Regions from separate parts of the Homo sapiens genome. Here all the other regions are linked to region 2. Evidence: promoter capture Hi-C in 16 types of primary human blood cells and fetal thymus (Javierre and others, 2016). All regions are on one chromosome and are shown on one strand. Each heading gives the region's core, a stretch centred on a gene start or on the middle of the fragment in contact. The rest is flanking DNA. Distances are from core to core; before and after follow the strand shown. Region 1 has its middle 16 kb from the start of AP5B1. Region 2 holds the start of SART1 (spliceosome associated factor 1, recruiter of U4/U6.U5 tri-snRNP). Region 3 holds the start of KAT5 (lysine acetyltransferase 5). Region 4 overlaps LOC124902693.

Evidence for each region. Contacts are between HindIII fragments. The CHiCAGO score rates a contact against its expected background, and 5 or more counts as called.
Region 1: a fragment that was not itself captured here is called in contact with the fragment with the promoter of SART1 in region 2 in 5 of 17 cell types (total CD8 T cells, megakaryocytes, naive B cells and 2 more); the score reaches 6.3 in total CD8 T cells.
Region 3: a contact is called between the fragment with the promoter of KAT5 here and the fragment with the promoter of SART1 in region 2, in 13 of 17 cell types (M2 macrophages, M0 macrophages, M1 macrophages and 10 more). The highest score is 10.9, in M2 macrophages.
Region 4: a fragment that was not itself captured here is called in contact with the fragment with the promoter of SART1 in region 2 in 1 of 17 cell types (endothelial precursors); the score reaches 5.2 in endothelial precursors.

The regions. Positions count from the first base shown.
Region 1 is chr11:65,763,080-65,765,901 of GRCh38, reverse strand. No RefSeq gene overlaps it. Among named protein-coding and RNA genes, the nearest start is that of AP5B1, 16 kb to the left of the region's middle. The HindIII fragment of the contact is 191 bases long and covers 1,155-1,345 here.
Region 2 is chr11:65,960,484-65,963,183 of GRCh38, reverse strand. SART1 (spliceosome associated factor 1, recruiter of U4/U6.U5 tri-snRNP) reads right to left here and starts at 1,450. Exons shown (of 20, transcript NM_005146.5): 1 at 1,091-1,450. The coding sequence starts at 1,403. RefSeq lists an enhancer at 805-1,592. The HindIII fragment of the contact is 10,638 bases long and covers 1-2,700 here.
Region 3 is chr11:65,710,991-65,713,690 of GRCh38, reverse strand. It overlaps KAT5 (lysine acetyltransferase 5), which reads right to left and starts at 1,439. Exons shown (of 13, transcript NM_182710.3): 1 at 1,246-1,439; 2 at 857-925; 3 at 633-769; 4 at 188-343; 5 at 24-98. The coding sequence starts at 1,423. RefSeq lists silencers at 1,114-1,193, 1,204-1,393 and enhancers at 1,424-1,733, 1,764-1,883. The HindIII fragment of the contact is 6,423 bases long and covers 884-2,700 here.
Region 4 is chr11:65,810,000-65,812,699 of GRCh38, reverse strand. The region is part of intron 3 of LOC124902693; the gene reads left to right. Among named protein-coding and RNA genes, the nearest start is that of OVOL1-AS1, 20 kb to the right of the region's middle. The HindIII fragment of the contact is 2,558 bases long and covers 110-2,667 here.

The sequences.
Region 1 (2,822 bases), core at 1-2,500, 200 kb after region 2:
TTAGCCATTCCCCCTTCCAATTATCCATCCAATTTATTTTTTATTTATTTATTTTTTGAGATGGATGGAGTCTCACTCTGTCACCCAGGCTGGAGTGCGGTGGCACAATCTCGGCTCACGGCAACCTCTGCCTCCCAGGTTTAAGTGATTCTCCTGCCTCAGCCTCCGAGTAGCTGGGATTATAGGCGCCCACCACTACGCCTGGCTAATTTTTGTATTTTTAGTAGAGACAGGGTTTCACCATGTTGGCCAGGATGGTCTTGAACTCCTGACCTCAAGTGATCCATCCACCTCAGCCTCCCAAAGTGCTGGGATTGCAGGTGTGAGCCACTGCGCCCAGCCCAATCATTGAATTTCATAAAATGTTATATCTGTTGATCACTGAGAGATGAGGAGGCAACCCACCTATACACTTGTCTGACGTCTGCATGAGCTGAATAACACACCGGCACTGACCAGCCAATCACCACTAGTCTTCGAAAGCAGTGATGTCCTAATCATGATGCCCATCTGTTATTTATGTCATTTTTTTGGACTAAAGAGCCAGCAGCAAGGTTTGCACCTTATACAATTCGTTAAAATTCCATGGCAAATGAAGTTTGAACCATGCTGGTGGGGAGGACTGGAGTTATTAAACTAAAATGTGGTAAGCCAAATATGTCCATATGGGGACTGGGCAAAGCAAAGACTGCCCACATACAGCACCTTAGCCTTTGTATGAGTTAGGAAACAATGGACTGTTTTTCCTTCTACATTCACACTCAACATAGAATGCTTCTGATCACCAAAATGTGTGGGTGATCAAACCCACACACCAAACAATTCTCTAGTGGACACTAACAGGGTGTCTTATAATTTAATTCAATTCTGACACCATCTACCTGGAGTTACAGTCAGAACCCACAGGTTAAGGGCTCAGTCCTGCAAGACTGTGCACACCTCAGAAGCCAGTCGCAAGCCGCAGGCTGTGACCTGTGCCTCTGTCCAATGAGCTATAAATAGGGGTTCCCACAACCCCATCCTGGAGTTTGATAATTTCTAGGCCAGCTCACAGAACTCAGGGAAACTTTACTTACGTTTACCCATTTATTCTAAAGACTATTAAACAGAATACAGATGCACAGGGCAAAGCATGTCAGAAGACCCGCTAAGCTTCCCTGCCCTCTCTGGGATGTGCCACCATCTAGGCACCTTCACGTGTTCAGCAGCCCAATAGCTCTCCAGATTCTGTAGTTCCAGGATTTTTATGGAGGCTTCATCACCCAGGCATGGTTGATTATTAACTCAGTCTCCAGCCTCTCTCCCCTTCCTGAAGAATGGGGGGTGGGACTGAAAGGTTCAAGCTTCTCATTATGGCTTGATCTTTCTGGCGACCAGGCCTCATCCAGGAGCCAGCAAGAGTCGGTCCTCTTGTTAGGACAGAAGATGCTTCTACCCCCACAATAATATTGCCATCTGGGGGAAAAAGGACTTGTTAGCAGTTCATGTTTGTACTCCTAGAAGTACTTTCAAGAAGTATAAAAATGAATACACAGATATTTAAATGTTAAAACATTTGTGTTTGTGGTCAGTCAAGTTTCTACATAAGAGTGAGGTGCAGAGTGATAAACCAACTTCAAATAACATGACGATTCTCCTCTGATGTAATGTTGCCCATTCTAACAAAGTGTTTGCGAAACCTTAATTACTTGCCCTATTTGGTGAGAATCAGGCAACGAACAGAGAATCACATTTAATATGGATATAGAAAATATTTCGACCGGGCCCAGTGGCTCACACCTGTAATTCCAGCACTTTGGGAGGCTGAGGCCGGGGATTACAAGGTCAGGAGTTCGAGACCAGCCTGGCCAATATGGTGAAACCCCATCTCTACTAAAAATACAAGAAGTAGCCAGGTGTGGTGGCATGCACCTGTAATCCCAGCTATTCGGGAGGCTGAGGCGGGAGAATTGCTTGAAACCGGAAGGCAGAGGTTGCAGTGAGCCAAGATCACACCACTGCATTCCAACCTGGAGGATCCGTCTAAAAAAAAAAAAGGTAAAATTTTCTGTAGCCACTATATAACTATTCACTTTCAGATTAGTTTTGCATAATAGAGATTCCTTTATGCCACTAAGTGGAGAATAAAAGGTTTAAAAGTCAGAAAATCGCTCTCCCTCTCCCCTTTCCACGGTCTCCCTCTCCCTCTCTTTCCACGGTCTCCCTCTCCCTCTCTTTCCACGGTCTCCCTCTCCCTCTCTTTCCACGGTCTTCCTCTGATGCCGAGCTGAAGCTGGACTGTACTGCTGCCATCTCGGCTCACTGCAACCTCCCTGCCTGATTCTCCTGCCTCAGCCTGCCGAGTGCCTGCGATTGCAGGCGCGCACTGCCACGCCTGACTGGTTTTCGTATTTTTTTGGTGGAGACAGGGTTTTGCTGTGTTGGCCGGGCTGGTCTCCAGCTCCTAACCGCGAGTGATCCGCCAGCCTCGGCCTCCCGAAGTGCTGGGATTGCAGACAGAGTCTCGTTCACTCAGTGCTCAATGGTGCCCAGGCTGGAGTGCAGTGGCCTGATCTCGGCTCGCTACAACCTCCACCTCCCAGCCGCCTGCCTTGGCCTCCCAAAGTGCCGAGATTGCAGCCTCTGCCCGGCTGCCACGCCATCTGGGAAGTGAGGAGCGTCTCTGCCTGGCCGCCCATCGTCTGGGATGTGAGGAGCCCCTCTGCCTGGCTGCCCAGTCTGGGAAGTGAGGAGCGCCTCTTCCCAGCCGCCATCCCATCTAGGAAGTGAGGAGCGTCTCTGCCCGGCTGCCCATCGTCTGAGATGTGGGGAGCGCCGCCGCC
Region 2 (2,700 bases), core at 201-2,700:
CTTTCTCTGCCTACTACTAACATAAGGGCATTTCTCAGGTTCTAGTCCTGACCCCCTCTTCTCATGTCACAGTCTTTCAGGGGCTTCACTGGCCACCCAGATACTGACTCCCAATGGCTTTATCCAGTCCAAACTCTGGATTTCCCCATTACCATCAACCTTGACAACCCCAAAAGTGAACTATCTCCCCCCACCCCCGCTCCAAATCTGCTTCTCTTCCCTACTCCTCAATTTCAGTAGAAATGACACCCACTACCTATCTGGCTGCTCAAGCCAAAATTCAAGGAGTCATCCTCCATTCCTTCTTCCCACCCTCATACAAGTGCTGAGTTCTGTTCATTCCTCCTCCAAAACACCTCTCCAACCTGTCCACTTCTCTCAATCCCACTGCTGCTGCCTTGGTGCAGGCCACCATCAGCCCTCCCCTGGCCTATAGCCCTCCTGGTTTCCTGGTCTCCAGTCCTGACTACCTTTGACTAAATTCTCAATCCAGTGATGTTTACAAAATACGGATCTGAGCAACTCACTCCTCAACTCACATCCATGGCTCCCTACTATCCTCAAGACAATCTACAGTTCTTAACAGAGACTACAGTACAGGGTCCTTTGTGTTCACATCCCTGTCTATCTTACTCCCTCATTTCTCTACCATGCGCCCTACACGATTCGTCCAATACCAGGTTTTTCTTGCCTCTGTATATGCTGACACTACTTCATTCACTCATTCAACATATTTATTGAGAATCTGATTGTACCAGACAACTGAGGAAAACAGAAGCCCTCTGTCCTCAAGCAGCTGAGTGGAGAAAGTCAACCTCTAATCCTAAACAACCGTAGAAAGACTTTTTTCTTTTTGAGACAGAGTCTCGCTTTGTTGCCCAGGCTGGAGTACACTGGCGGGACCGCAGCTCACTGCAGCCTCTAACTCCTGGGCTCAAGGGATCCCGTAGAAAGACTATTTAATAGAGCTGGTAAACAGCTTGGGGGTTTCCTGGCCTGAAGAGCTTCGCTGACACTGCGCGCACACCCAGACCCACGCGTTCCGGGACCCCCGCCCGACCCGCCCCCTGCGCAGGCCCCGCCTCCTCACCGGCCTCGTAGCCGTCATCGCGCTTCTCCCGCTTCACGCGCCGCTCGGAGGGCTCTGCCTGGCTGCGCTCCCGCCCGTGCGTGCTGCTCCGGGCCTCAGCTTCGGCCCCGCGCCGCCCGCTCCCGCGCTCGCCCCCACGTTCCCGGCTCCGCTTCCGTCGTTCGCCACCGCTACCGCCACTGCCGCCACTCCGGTGCTTGTGTTTTTTGTGTTCCCGGTGCCGCGGCGGCTGCTCGGTGGCACCCCCGGTGCCGGCCGCCGCCGTCGTCCCGGCCGCCTCCTTCTCTCCGCGATGCTTCTTGGACGACCCCATAGTGGCACGTCCACTCCGAGCCCGGCTGCCGCCGAGCCCAGACAACGCAAAATGGGAATACTTCCGGGTCGCTCGGCAGCCGCTGTCGTGTTGCCGGAAACTAAGAGCGGCTGCTTCCGTCGCTCGCCTTGGAGCCTGCCCCAGAGGCTCATGGGAAGGCCGGGATCAGCGCTCGACTGCACATTCGCGCCGTCTCGGGTCGGGTGGGTTCTTTGAGCGAGTGGTCCCATTGCGCATGCGCTCCTCAAGGGAAGCGGAATTAACCCGGAGGTGGGATCCCAGAACTGGAAGGACTTAGAGCCCATTAAGTCAGTGTCTTCGTGGCTTTAAGTTCCTCCCCGGCCTCCCTGCGCTTGCACTTCACCGGCAACGGGGTGTTCACTACCTCACGGTCTTTCCGTAGACACCTCCCTCCTACAATGGGCGCTCGCTTAGTGGACTCCTAGGGTCGTGGCTCCAACGGGTGTTGTTTTCCCGAGATCTCCAATTCCACAGCCCAGCTTCAGACCCGCTATAACCAGTATCGTCAGGGAACGCTTCCTTCCCACGTTCCCTGTTTTGTTTTGTTTTGTTTTTTCCCTTGAGATAGGATCTCACTCTGTTGCTCAGGCTGGAGTGCAGTGGCGTGATCACAGCGCACTGCAGCCTCGACCTCCTGGGCTCAAGTGATCCTCCCACCTCAGCCTTCCCAGTAGCTGGGACTACGAGAGTACGCTACCACGCCCCTTTAATTTTTGTATTTTTTTGTAGATGGTTGGTGGGGAGCGGGGGTAGGGGGTGGGGTCACTATGTTGGCCAGGCTGGTCTCGAACTCCTGAGCTCAGGCTATACACCCGCCTTGGCCTCCCAAAGTGCTGAGATTACAGGCATGCGCCACTGCGCCTGGCCCTGGATTGGATTTTTAAAACCTGGCCCCGTGAACTGTTAAGATTGTTTAGGAGCTCCACATGGGCGTCAGTGTATCCCTGGAACCCCTGAAATTGAATGCAAAATGTGGCACATCTGTGTGTATGAGTTTTTTTCTTGAGGAGACCAGCCCTAACTTAAAACTATTGGGACTTAAAACCCCAGTGCAGGCCGGGCGCGGTGGCTCACGCCTGTAATCCCAGCACTTTGGGAGGCCAAGGCAGGCGAATCACGAGGTCAAGAGATCGAGACCATCCTGGCCTACATGGTAAAACCCCGTCTCTACTAAAAATACAAAAATTAGCTGGGTGTGGTGGCGCACACCTGTAGTCCCAGCTACTCAGGAGGCTGAGGCAGGAGAATCGCTTGAACCTGGGAGGCAGAGGTTGCA
Region 3 (2,700 bases), core at 190-2,689, 250 kb after region 2:
AAGAGATGGTTTGGGGAACTCACCTGGGGAAAAACCGAGGCCGGGGCTGTCTCGCTGGGCACTGGAGTTGCTGGTGAAACCACCTCCACCTTCCGTTTCTGCAGAGAGAAACCAACAAAGGTGGGTCAGAAGGTAGAGAAGGTGGGACCTGAGAAGAAAGCAAGGTCCCTGGAATTGCTGAGGGTACCGTTGAGCGGTGGTTGGGCTGCAGGCAGGAGCTGGAGGAGAGCGGCTGGTCAGGCTCGCCACCGGGAATGGCCTCCCGCTCCTTGGGCAGGTTGAAGCGGAGTGTGATCTGGACCGGGATTGGCAAGGTCTTCCCGCTGGCCTGCGCCGAGGCCGGCTGTAGAGATAGGTCCAGGGTCTTCCTTTGGGGCGGGGATGGCAGTGGGATGGGGAAGGGGAAGAGGGGTCCCTCACCTCAAAATTATCAAACCCCACCCTCGCCTTCTGAAGGACACAGGACTAGCTACTGGACTCTGGGAGCTACATGTGCAATTTGGCCCCCATCCTTTGCAAGATGAAGTCAGGGTGAGAGGGAGCCGCCTCCTGCCCATCCAGGAGCTCCTAATGCCAACAGACAAGAGAAATAGGAGGCAGGAGAGAAAAGGTGAAGTGGGGGACCTACTCACCACCTCTCTCTCTGGAGAGCCAGGACGGGACCCAGGAAGTCCGTTCTTAGTGGGGGTCTTGGCCTCTTTCTTGGGGAACTGGATCTTCTTTAGGTCCAGCCGCTCATGCGTCACCCATTCATCCAGACGTTTGTTGACTGTAGCAGTGGGGATGGCTCAGGACAGAATGCCAAAGACTGTCCCCCAACCCTACCCTGATGCCCCACCTCAGGCCCAGAACTCACAGTCAATGTAATGGACGTAGAAAAGCTTCCGGCCACTGATGTCCTTCACGCTCAGGATCTCGGCCAGGGCTATGAGAATAGCATAGACAGGGGCCTTAGACAGGCCAGGCTATGAGACTCCACCCTTCCACGACCTGAACTCCACCCCCAGGCCGGATCCCTAAGCTCCAGCACTTAGGTCTCTCCTAAGCCTCCTTCAGTCACAAGTGCCACCCCTTTCCAGGCCCCGCCCTGTACCTCTCGGAGCAGCTAAGAGCCACGCCCCTTCATCAAAGTATCTGCGCCTCGCCCGCCCCATAATTCCAGACGCCCCTCCCCATCCCGGGATTTCAGTTGACTCCCGCCCCTCGCCCTCAGGTTCCTTAGTCCCGCCCCCCAACGTCACTCACGCCACTCATCTTCGTTGTCCTGGTTCCGCCGCAGCACGGGTAGGCGGCAGCCCTCGATTATCTCCCCCTGGGGAGACAGCGCGACGCCAGGGTCGGCTACTGGGGGGCCTCGGGCTCTACCCACCTCCCCTGGCTCCCTCCGCCCCGCCCCGGGCACCGGACTCACCACCTCCGCCATCTTCCCTCCCTCCACTGCCACTTCCGGCCCCTCTGGGAGACGTCACTTCCGGGACCGAGCGCCCTGTGGGCCCGGGCCTCACGAAGCCCCTGTAGAGGGGGACCTTTGAGAGACACCGCGACCCAGCTGCGAGGGGCAAGACTGCCCCTGTGACTCGGGGGAAAACGGAGTGTTACAAGCCTCAGGCCGAGCCCTAGGTGGAAACCCCATAACGTGCACAGCCAGTGGCGGTCTACTGAGTCCGTCACGTGACGCCCACCGGGTGCGAAGCTGGTCACGTGTATGCGGAGCGGGTCACGTGGCAATACCGTTTTTGGCTTTGTCGGAGGGAAGTCCTCGGGCGTCTCCTTGTGGCGGCGGGAGGTGTTGCCGGGAGTCAACTGGGCGCGAGAGGCTGGAGAAAGGAAGTGGCCTTAGAAGGGTTCGAACGCTCCCCCAAGTCTGTGGACTTCATTCCGTAGGCAAGAGGACTCAGGGAAGATTCCTAGCTTTATTTTGTATATTAGGCTTTTTTAATTTGTATATATTTATTTTTGAGACGGAGTCTCGCTCTGTCGCCAGGCTGGAGTGCAGTGGCGCGATCTCAGCTCCCTGTAACCCCCGCCTCCCGGGTTCAAGCGATTCTCCTGCCTCAGCCTCCCGAGTACCCAACTAATTTTTGTATTTTTAGTACGGGCGGGGTTTCACCATGTTGGCCAGGATGGTCTAGAGCTCTTGACCTCGTGATCCGCCCGCCTCGGCCTCACAAAGTACTGGGATTACAGGCGTGAGCCACCGCCCTCAGCCATATTAGGCTTTTTTTTTTTTTTTTTTTTTTTTTGAGACAAGGTCTGGCTCTCTCGCCCGGGCTGGAGTGCAGCCAGCGAGGCACAATCTCCGCTCACTGCAGCCTCCCCCTCCCGGGATCAAGTGATCCACCTCAGGCTCTCTAGTAGCTGGGACTACAGGCGCGCACCACCAAGCCTGGCTAGTTTTTTAAAATTTTTGTGTAAACAGGGTTTGGAGACTGGGCATGGTGGCTCACACCTGTAATCCCAGCTGCCTCCAGTCTAATCATGAGAAAAACATCAGACAAATCCCAATTGAGAAACATTTTACAAAATACCCCATGAATACTCCTCAAAACTGTGAAGGTGTCACCGGTGGAGGGTGTACAGGTTCTTGGCATCTAAAATAATGGGACAAAACGGCTGGGCGCGGTGGCTCACGCCTATAATCCCAGCACTTTGGGAGGCCGAGGCGGGCGGATCACGAGGTCAGGAGATTGAGACCATCCT
Region 4 (2,700 bases), core at 139-2,638, 150 kb after region 2:
CCTGACGTCAGCTGATCCACCTGCCTTGGCCTCCCAAAGTGCTGGGATCGCAGGTGTGAGCCACCGCACCCAGCCCCCATTCACTTTTGTTTTAGGAAATGAGAAAGCTTCTGCCTTTTTTCTTTCCTTCCTTCCTTGGATGTTAGTTAAGATCAGTGAGGTAATGGTGATAAAGTACTTTGAATTACCTCAAGGAGAGTGCAGCCCAACTTGTTATTATTTACCTAGGTCAGTTCACAAACCCCCACGATCTAGGGTTCCTGTCTCCTGCCCTGGGGATGGTGCCTGGGAGAAAGGAGATGTCACAGACCCAGTCCCACAGGGCGCTGTTGGCTGGAGTTGGTCATTCCTTACTTTGACATCAACAGGCTTATCTCTAGAAATAGGCTAAATGGTAGCTCAGGCGCCGGTGTTGCCTCATCCCGCAAACTCCCAGGGAGGCTGCCTACTTCCAGCCCCTGTTCTGGGAACTAATGATAGGTGGGATGAAAAGACTGTTTCCTCTGATGCGCTTTTATGAGTTGTTTTCGAAGATGAGGTGGCAAGGACATGGTTAACCCGCTCCCTTGTGCAGGGAGACATCAGAATGACAGGGCACGGGGAATCTCCCCAACCCGTTCCCAGGAGAGCTCTTGCCGAGGACGGCCCAGCTGTTAGCCAGAAATCAAGGCAGCCTCAAGCCCTGTAACCCAGATATCAGTGGGCTTTTTCGGCTGACGGTGCTGTGGCCTGCGGCAGGCGGCAGTGTGGGTAGAGGACAGCTGTGGCTGAGGCCGGCAGCTCTTTCCACACGACTTCTTGGGTAATGGCTCTTCTTAAGCCTGTGATATTTAGGGATTGTCAAACTTCCCTTTCATCCTGAGCCACCTTCCCTCATGGGTAGCAGAGGAGTTGGATTTCTTTCTTTTCTTTTCTTTTTTCTTTTTCTTTTTCGACAGAGTCTTGCTCTGTCGCCCAGGCTGGAGGGCAGTGGTATGATCTCTGCTCACTGCAACCTCCACCTCCCGGGTTCAAGTGATTCTTCTGCCTCAGCCGCCCGAGTAGCTGGGATTACAGGCACGCACCACCACGCCCAGCTAATTTTTGTATTTTTAGTAGAGATGGGGTTTCACCATGTTGGTCAGGCTGGTCTCGAACTCTTGACCTCAGGTGATCCACCTGCCTTGGCCTCCCAAAGTGCTGGGATTACAGGCGTGAGCCACCAAGCCCGGTCAAGGAGTTGGATTTCTTATGACAAGAGTATTATGGCTGTGTGTCCCAGAGGAGGCACTGTGTCCTCATGAGGGTCCTTCACTGAAAGGAGAGCCTCGAGGACAAAGGAATCTTCTAGAGACGACGTTGGGAGGGAGGAGTGGAGTTTGCAGGTGACTCTAGAGGACCCCAAAGTCCAGTGGGAGCTCATTACCTCCTCGATAGGAGGAGCCTGTTGTTGTATGAGTGAGGAAAGGTGGCAGAACCGAGGCTGAGAGAGGCTGCGAAGATGCAGCAGCAGTGCTGAGGCCTGAGAGGAGGACACGTTCTATTACGCCAATTAATTCTACCCACCGAAAGGGCACATCACATTTTTGGGGTTGCCAAAAGCCGTTCTTAGCAGTAAAAAGTCTGTGAACTGCTGCACTGGGGATTGGCAAAGGCTTGGTAGCCAGCGCATTGAAGAGGGAGGGACAGCAAGCCTCACACCGGGAGTGGATCCTTCCTGTGTTTCTGCCACCACAGTTTGCCAGTTTGATGCCAAGGGACTCTTACTGTTTATGTGTGCATGTTTGTGCTGTTAGATTATCTTCTGAGCAATTTCAAGTTTTAAGAATATGTTGGTGAAGTCAACAATGAACAATTCCAGGAGACTTGGTTCCACCCGGGCCCTGCTCAGGAAAGATGAGGAGCCCCTCCCAACCCCACCCCTGCCTGTCCACATGGCCCTTCCTCCCCATCATCCACCATGGGGCCCTCCTGTGCCACAACATGGCTCTCATCCTTCTGTCTGGACACTTGCCCTGCCTCCTGGAGAGCCAGGCTCCTGCCCTGGCGGGCATGTGAGTGTGCATGTGTGTGAGTGTGCATGTGTGAGTGTGCGTGTTTGCGAGTGTGCACGTGAGTGCACGTCTGAACGTGTGTGGGAGTGTATACGTGAGTGCACGTCTCAACGTGTGTGCGAGTGTGCATGTGTGTGCGAGTGTGTACGCGTGAGTGCACGTGTGCATGTGTGTGCAATTGTGCGTGTGTCTACGTGTGTGCATGTGAGTGCATGTGTGTGTGATTGCGTGTGTGTATAATTGTGCACGTATGTGAGTGTGCATGTGTGTACAATTGTGTGCGTGTGTGTGAGTGTGCATGTGTGTGCATGTGGCACGGAGGGGGAAGAAGAGAGTTCTCCTCTGTGGTGATCGCCACCATTCAGTTGAAGGGTTTAAGCTGAGCCAAGATGAAGCAAGAGTGACACCAAGTGCCAAGAACAAGTGCTTGCTGTGGTATCAGGTGTGCTCTCTCCTCAAATCAGAGGAGCAGAGAGAAGCTCAGTTCCAGTCTGCAGTGTTCACCCCTGTGAGAGGGTGCCGACCCATCCAGAGGTGGCCAGCCCCCTCCAGAGGTGGCTCAGTGCTGGCATGCCACTCTGCCCATTTGGACAAGGGGATGGCCTCTCTGGGAATTGGATGCGGAACCGAAGCTTTGAATAGATTTAAAAAATAAAATCCAAGGTGG